2 separate regions of the Homo sapiens genome follow, and region 2 is linked to region 1. Evidence: promoter capture Hi-C in 16 types of primary human blood cells and fetal thymus (Javierre and others, 2016). All regions are on one chromosome and are shown on one strand. Each heading gives the region's core, a stretch centred on a gene start or on the middle of the fragment in contact. The rest is flanking DNA. Distances are from core to core; before and after follow the strand shown. Region 1 holds the start of LYZ (lysozyme). Region 2 overlaps CNOT2 (CCR4-NOT transcription complex subunit 2).

What was found. Contacts are between HindIII fragments. The CHiCAGO score rates a contact against its expected background, and 5 or more counts as called.
Region 2: a fragment that was not itself captured here is called in contact with the fragment with the promoter of LYZ in region 1 in 1 of 17 cell types (M2 macrophages); the score reaches 5.6 in M2 macrophages.

What each region holds. Positions count from the first base shown.
Region 1 is chr12:69,346,806-69,350,238 of GRCh38, reverse strand. It overlaps LYZ (lysozyme), which reads right to left and starts at 1,858. Exons shown (of 4, transcript NM_000239.3): 1 at 1,695-1,858; 2 at 1-131. The coding sequence starts at 1,830. The HindIII fragment of the contact is 11,988 bases long and covers 1-3,433 here.
Region 2 is chr12:70,351,889-70,355,565 of GRCh38, reverse strand. It overlaps CNOT2 (CCR4-NOT transcription complex subunit 2), which reads right to left. Exons shown (of 16, transcript NM_014515.7): 16 at 573-1,737. The coding sequence ends at 1,651. Among named protein-coding and RNA genes, the nearest start is that of KCNMB4, 13 kb to the left of the region's middle. RefSeq lists a silencer at 3,331-3,531. The HindIII fragment of the contact is 1,812 bases long and covers 1,119-2,930 here.

The DNA.
Region 1 (3,433 bases), core at 609-3,108:
TGGGGTTTTGCCATCATTACACCAGTAGCGGCTATTGATCTGAAATATCCCATAATCAGTGCTTCTGTCTCCAGCATTGTAGTTTGTAGCTCGTGTGTTGTAACCACTCTCCCATTTGGCCAAACACATCCCTGAAAAGAACTTATTTTTAGTAATAAACAGCAACACTAAGTGACTTATACTCTATAGCAAAATCAGTTCTACTTAGCTACTTCTATTTTACTGATTTGTTTTATAAGTATAAAGATTTACTTATAAAATATCTTAGCACTTTAGTGTTAAGATAAGGGACTTGTAAGAGAATCCTTTTGTAATGCAAATCATCTTGTAACACCAACGAACAATATAACATACTTTTAAAATATTAAAATACATGTTTGTTCCATTGCTTTTACCCTTCCCGTGCTCCCATCCCTCAGGCAACATTCAGCCAAGAACAGAAAAATCAACAGAGCTGTTGAGTAGATTTTGTAAATTCATAGCAGATACATAGGCTGATGGAAAAATGCTTTTTTTAATCAGAAAAACATAAGGATTTTCTGATAGAAATTTTCTTATAATATCTAAAGGTGAATTTGGATATCAAGTTAGAATCTTGAAAACAAGACTATTCCGTGATTTCATCCCTTCACTCATTCATTCAAAAATAGCTATTGAGGGGAAATGTCTGAATTCAATCTGAAAACTACAGAGATTATTACATCGACAACTATGTACTAAACTATAAAATAACTTTTCCTCATGGCACATCTTGAATTGTGTGGGAGAAAATGAAAGATAGTTAATCAAGTAGAGTAGATAAAAATAATAAAACATTTCATGCTGAGTTTCTGGGATCCTATACAAAGAGTGACTGAAGGGAACTAGGTTCCTACTGCTCTTGTGTAGGGAATTCAATATATTCTTTAAAAACATCACTGTTAAAAATCCCATGTCGGCTGGGTGCAGTGGTTCACACCTGTAATCCTACCACTTTGGGAGGCTGAGGTGGGCAGATCATTTGAGGCCAGGAGTTCAAGACCAGCTTGGCCAACATGGTGAAACCCCATCTGTACTGAAAATACAAAAAATTAGCTGGGTGTGGTGGTACACACCTGTAGTCACAGCTACTCAGAAGGCTGAAGCACGAGAATCACTTGAGCCCAGAAGGCAGAGGTTGCAGTGAGCTGAGATCATGCCACTGCACTCCAGCCTGGGCCACACAGTGAGACTGTCTTTAAAAATAAAATAAAATAAAATAAAAATAAAAATAAAAATCCCACATCACGGCAGGGGACTTGAAGACAAGAAAAATACTGCATCACTCTAGGCTCTCAGAGCCCAAGTTCAAAATGGGAAATAACTGGAGTCACATACCAAGGACTTGAGAGAGCTCTGCCAGGTCCTCAAATGTATCTTTCAGTCAGCTTACATGTGCCATTGAATCTCAGGCACCCAGCAAACTTCCTAGCACTAGAACAGTACAACAGGTCCTGTTTTACTTAGAATGGAATTTTCCCCTGCCATGCCCGTATTCCTTTATCGGGTATCTCTGGTTATAAAGAACCAAACTGATGTTTTTAGCCATTGTAAGTATACAAACCCACAAAGAAATAAAACATCTATTCACTCAAAGCCCCTTCTTCTTCTTCCTTCTCTCCTAGTGTCTGTTCCATACGTAGCTAATTCTCTGGAATTATGGAGAGTAGACTTACAGTTTGCTAGGCTGATTCCCCTGTAGCCATCCATTCCCAATCTTTTCAGAGTTCTGGCCAACTCACACCTTTCAAAGACCTTGCCCTGGACCGTAACAGAAAGGAGGACAAGCCCCAGAACAATGAGAGCCTTCATGTTGACTGCTAGGTCAGAGTGCTAGGCTGACCAGGGTGAGCTGGCCCCAGTATTTAACATCTTTTAACTTCCTTCTTCCCCTTGTGGTTTGGGGGCTCCACCCTTTCAGTTGTGTGGAAAACAGGAACTGTCTATTGATCCACTGACTCTAAAGAGATTTTTTTAATGCTTGAAGAGAGATATGCTGATGTCCTAAGAATTAGTCTACAGGAAAATAATGAAATGGAATTGTTTAAAGTACTGGCTCTGGAAGAATTGGGGCATAGCACTACTTCCAAGACAGGAACTTTCTTCTGTTTGATTATGAATTTGAGCAATTATAAAGAAAAAAATGACTATTTTGTGCAGCTTAAAATGAGCTGTGATTTTTGAGTAACATTCAATTTTGTGAAATTGTTTTGTATGCATTCACTTTTTTATATTTATCTTTTTTACTTAAAATTATTTTACATATCTTTTCCACAAAATGGACATGACACATGTGCCTGTTGTCTTAATGGGTGTATAGTGTGACACCACGTTGCTCAGCTAGTTTCTTACTCTAGACTCTTTTTGTTACTATAGCAAATTTTTTATTATTATAAATCAGTGTTTTACTATTATAAATAAGGTTCATGTGAACAACTTTACCAACTACCTTTTTTTTTTTTTTTTTGAGATGGAGTCTTACTCTGTCACCAGGCTGGAGTGCAGTGGCGCAATCTCAGTTCATTGCAACCTCTGCCTCCCGGGTTCAAGCAATTCTCCTGCCTCAGCCTCCCAGGTAGCTGGGACTACAGGCATGTACCACCATGCCCAGCTAATTTTTGTATTTTTAGTAGAGACAGGGTTTCACCATGTGGCCAGGATGGTCTGGATCTCTTGACCTCGTGATCCGCCCGCCTCGGCCTTCCAAAGTGCTGGGATTACAGGTGTGAGCCACCACATCCGGCCTACTTTACCAACTACTTTTCACAATACTTTGCCTCCCCTTTCCATATTAGAACATAAGGGGTCATTAGAAAGCAACAGCATTTTAAAAATAAAACCTACCCAAACATATATCCAACTAAATGCTACCTTTGAAAATAGCAATCTCAGGAGGCTGTGCACAGCTTTTAAAACAATGCTACCAGAACTCAAAAAGAACTGCACTTCTGTATCTGCCTAAGAGGACAGATTCTGAGCCACACAAAGTGTCATCACTTTGTAGTTACCCTTATTTTTCATCAGTGGCCTCTAAAGATTACCAGATTTGGTTTTAAATGACAGTTCAAGGACCCTGTTCAAAAATCAAGAATAATCTCATTTTTCAGGCTAGGCCTAATTTTGATTCTTCAATAATAAATAGGGCCAGGTGCAGTGGCTCATGCCTGTAATCCCAGCACTTTGGGAGGCTGAGGTGGGTGGATCACCTGAGGTCAGGCGTTCAAGACCAGCCTGGCCAACATGGTGAAACTCCGTCTCTACTAAAAATACAAAATTAGCTGGGCGTGGTGGTGCGCCTATAATTCCAGCTACTTGGGAGGCTGAGGCAGGAGAATTACTTGAACCCGGGAGGCGGAGGTTGTGGTGAACTGAGATCACACCACTGCACTCCAGCCTGGGCAACAGAGTGAGACTC
Region 2 (3,677 bases), core at 775-3,274, 1.0 Mb before region 1:
ACTTTTACTCTTCATAGAAAAATAGGTTAAAAATGAAAATTTAAAGGATCAAAACTCATTGCCTTTTTTCTACTCTCTAGTTCTGCTTTGGAAGCTTCAATCTTCTGATTTTTAAAATACAGTATTTGTATTTAGATGGGAAAAGAATCCACTAACTTGTAAATATGAGATATCTAGGCCAGCAAACTGAAGGTAAAGTCTACCCATTCCCACCTTATGGCTTACCTTCATTTGCACATTACTTCTTAAAGATAAATTTAAAGGTCTATCAAGAAATTTCTCATAAATTTTTCACAGAAGTACTTTGGTTGGGTTCCAAGAGTATTCAGAATGTTTTATTTCTAATGCTGCCACAACCCATTTAAAAAAGTTTTCTCTGATTAATACTGTCTACATTTTTAACCTACAAGTGAAACGGTTCACTATATTTCCATTAAATTACTTGTTGGAAGCTGAAAAAGACATTTGAGTCACACCATTCAGTTTGATATCTGTAAAACTTCAGTTTGTTTCCTCTATTTTTCATGTTGAAGAAATAATTTCGCAATTTCAAATCAAAGCCAACACTGCAGTGAGGAGAGCTTTTCTACTTTATTACAAAGAGAAGAAGCCTTTATGTGGTCAGAAAATACAAGATTGATCTTTTTTTCTCTTCCTATGAAACGCTGCTGTTCAAACAGCCAGAGTGAATTGTCTCAGTTCACTTCTTTTAAGTCCCATCACATTCACTTGGGTATGGATGTCCTTGGCTGCTGAAAATCTGGCCCTTTTAGTGCACAGGGCGACAAAGTCCCCTGACCAGCAGTTCCAGAATGTCCCATTTTCATATATTGCATCCATGCACACCTCCTAAAAATGAGGTACAGCAGGGCAAACATTTTCCAAAATAGATGTCATATATATAATATATACACATTCGTACATACATACCTTTATTCATGTGATGTCCAAAAATTTAAAAAAAATGTACACATTTATTACAAAATCGTAACAAAGACTGGACAGTGTTTTGCTCATTCTGGAAAGATGAAGCTCAGTAATAACACAACCCTGGAAAACCATCCAGAGATTGTGGCAATATCTTTCTTCTAAACAGTCAGATATTCTTGCATTAAGCTTGGCGAAACTGCCTTTCAAAAACAGAAGGGGAAGTAAAATGAAGGAAGCAGACCTCTTGCTCATCTTTCCAAATGAAATACGAGAAGGATCTTCACATAAAAATGCACAAACATTTGTTATTTTATTACCAATAGTGCTACAATGAACAATGCAAAATTTGTGGTCTAATTTTCTTGAGTCTTTTGGGGGTTTTCTTTTTTACATTTTAGAAACTATGGTAAACTTCTGTCAGTGTATTTGCTTGTCTTTACAGACTCAAGTCTGTCTGCTGGCAAAAAAGGAAATAAATGAAAAAATTCAGACCCTGCTCAAACTAGAGAAAAACAAATTACAAATTTAGTTGTTGGGCAGCACATAATTAGTAAGGCAGGACCTCAAATGGTGACCTTTTGCGTAAGCCAATTGCCAGATCCTCAAGGAATTAAAACCAGGGTGCCTGAGCCACATCAGTTCTGCAGTTATGTTGAGTATTGTGCTGAGACAGCCATACCCCAAGAAAAGGGAAGTCTTTTTTTTTTTTTTTTTTTTTTTTTAGAAGGCTTGCTGAGCAGGGTTGTAGTTGAAGGTGGATGGCAGGTGAGGCCGTTCTTCTAATTTGTCATATTCCAGATGGAACTCCTATAAAAACAAATTCAAGAATTTAGATATCTTCCCCTTTTCATTTTACATTTGTCAAAATACATTTTACTATAAAAATAAATAAAATACCCAATATATATGAATCAACATCAACACAGATATACCAACTGTTTTTCCTCTACATAAAATACAGCTTGAAGAAAAATAATGTGCTGTAGTTTCTAACCAATGAGTACAAAAAATACAGACAGGCTTTCTGTGTGTAAGTCAAGAGACTACTAATGGACCACTTGACACTGAAATGTTGTGTATTGTTTTTAACTTAAAAAAAGAGGGGGCAATTACTGTATCTCTGAATCACTGGAAATTACAGGATATTTAAAATAAAGCCCCCTTCAACGAAGTATAAAAACCTAAAGATTTTGTCCATGAAAAAAGTTTAGAAATAATTTTCCAAATTGTCTTTATTACATTTATATTAAAAAATAAGCAGGGCCGCGCACAGTGGCTCACGTCTGTAATCCCAGCACTTTGGGAGGCTTAGGTGGGCAGATCACGAGGTCAGGAGATCAAGACCATCTTTACCAATCAACATGGTGAAACCCCGTCTGTACTAAAAATACAAAAATTAGCTGGGCGTAGTGGTGCACGCCTGTAGTAGCAGCTACTCAGGAGGCTGAGGCAGGAGAATCGCTTGAACCTGGCAGGTGGAGGTTGCAGTGAGCCAAGATTGCACCACTGCACTCCAGCCCAGATGACAAAGCAAGACTCCGTCTAAAAAAAAAAAAAAAAGGAAAACACATAAAATTATTCTAACCTCATTAAAATCTGGGGAAAATAATGAACTTAAAACTCACACATCACTAGACTTGCATTTCACAAACCCAAAACCCTGACTCAAATATAAATCAACTGCCACCGAAAACTAGACAATGGTTCTGCTGTAGGAACATTTGAAAACTAGATAGCAGCTCACTTTAATCAAACTTTCAAAATACTGTATTAACTTCATGAGTTTTAAAATTTAAGAATGGTGACATAATTTCTTCATGATACTTCCCACCCAAGATCAAGAATAGAGATGCAGAATAGCTATGTATATTAGAAAAAAATGCAAACAACAAATACCTCTGCAACCCCAATAAGCAAGAGGCTCTAAAAGCCTCTTACCAATTCTACCATCTGAATTAGCACAAATTACTGCATAATCCAACTTAAAGAATTATGAAGCTTAATATGTATTATGTATTAAAGATTAAGGCAACAAGTGACATTAGCTACCATGGGTTAACATATTTTACCTTATCTGTCTGGTTTCAAACTGATTCCATGATGAGTATTTCCATTATTAAATTAAAATGAAAACCTAGACTATAATGACCAAATTTTAAGATGGAACACCAAGTATTTAAAATTTAAAGATATTACACTTAAATAAATTTAAAGATATTACAGACCTAACAGCAGAATTTATTGAAAGCCTAGTATGTGCTAAAATTAGAGATACAGCTAATTTTATTCTAATCTTTGTAATAATTCTGTAAAGCAGATATCATTATTTTCATTTTGTACCTGAAGAAAATGAGGCTTACAAGTAACTTGGACAAGTCATCAGTAAGCGGCACACCTAGCATTAGGATCCAGACCCATGTGACAAAAAGCCTCCATGTGACAAAAAGCCTGTGTCTTTTGTAGTGTAACACATTATTTTTAATATTTTTAGTCCAAGATCCAAAACAGATTCATTTACTTCATTACAAGGCAATCCAGAAATGCTGAAAGAATTCAGTCCCCTTCTCTCTTGGTATAAGGTGAAGAAAAAGGAAAAAAAAAATCAGTCCCCTGAGAGTTTATAAAGAAGGTACACCATGGTGACTTTAGCCTGAAAAGGTTGCCTTCATGTGACTGGTACAGTAATTAAGACACAGAGGTTATTTGCTTATCAGTAAAAATTAGCAAACACCAGAATCACCACCACA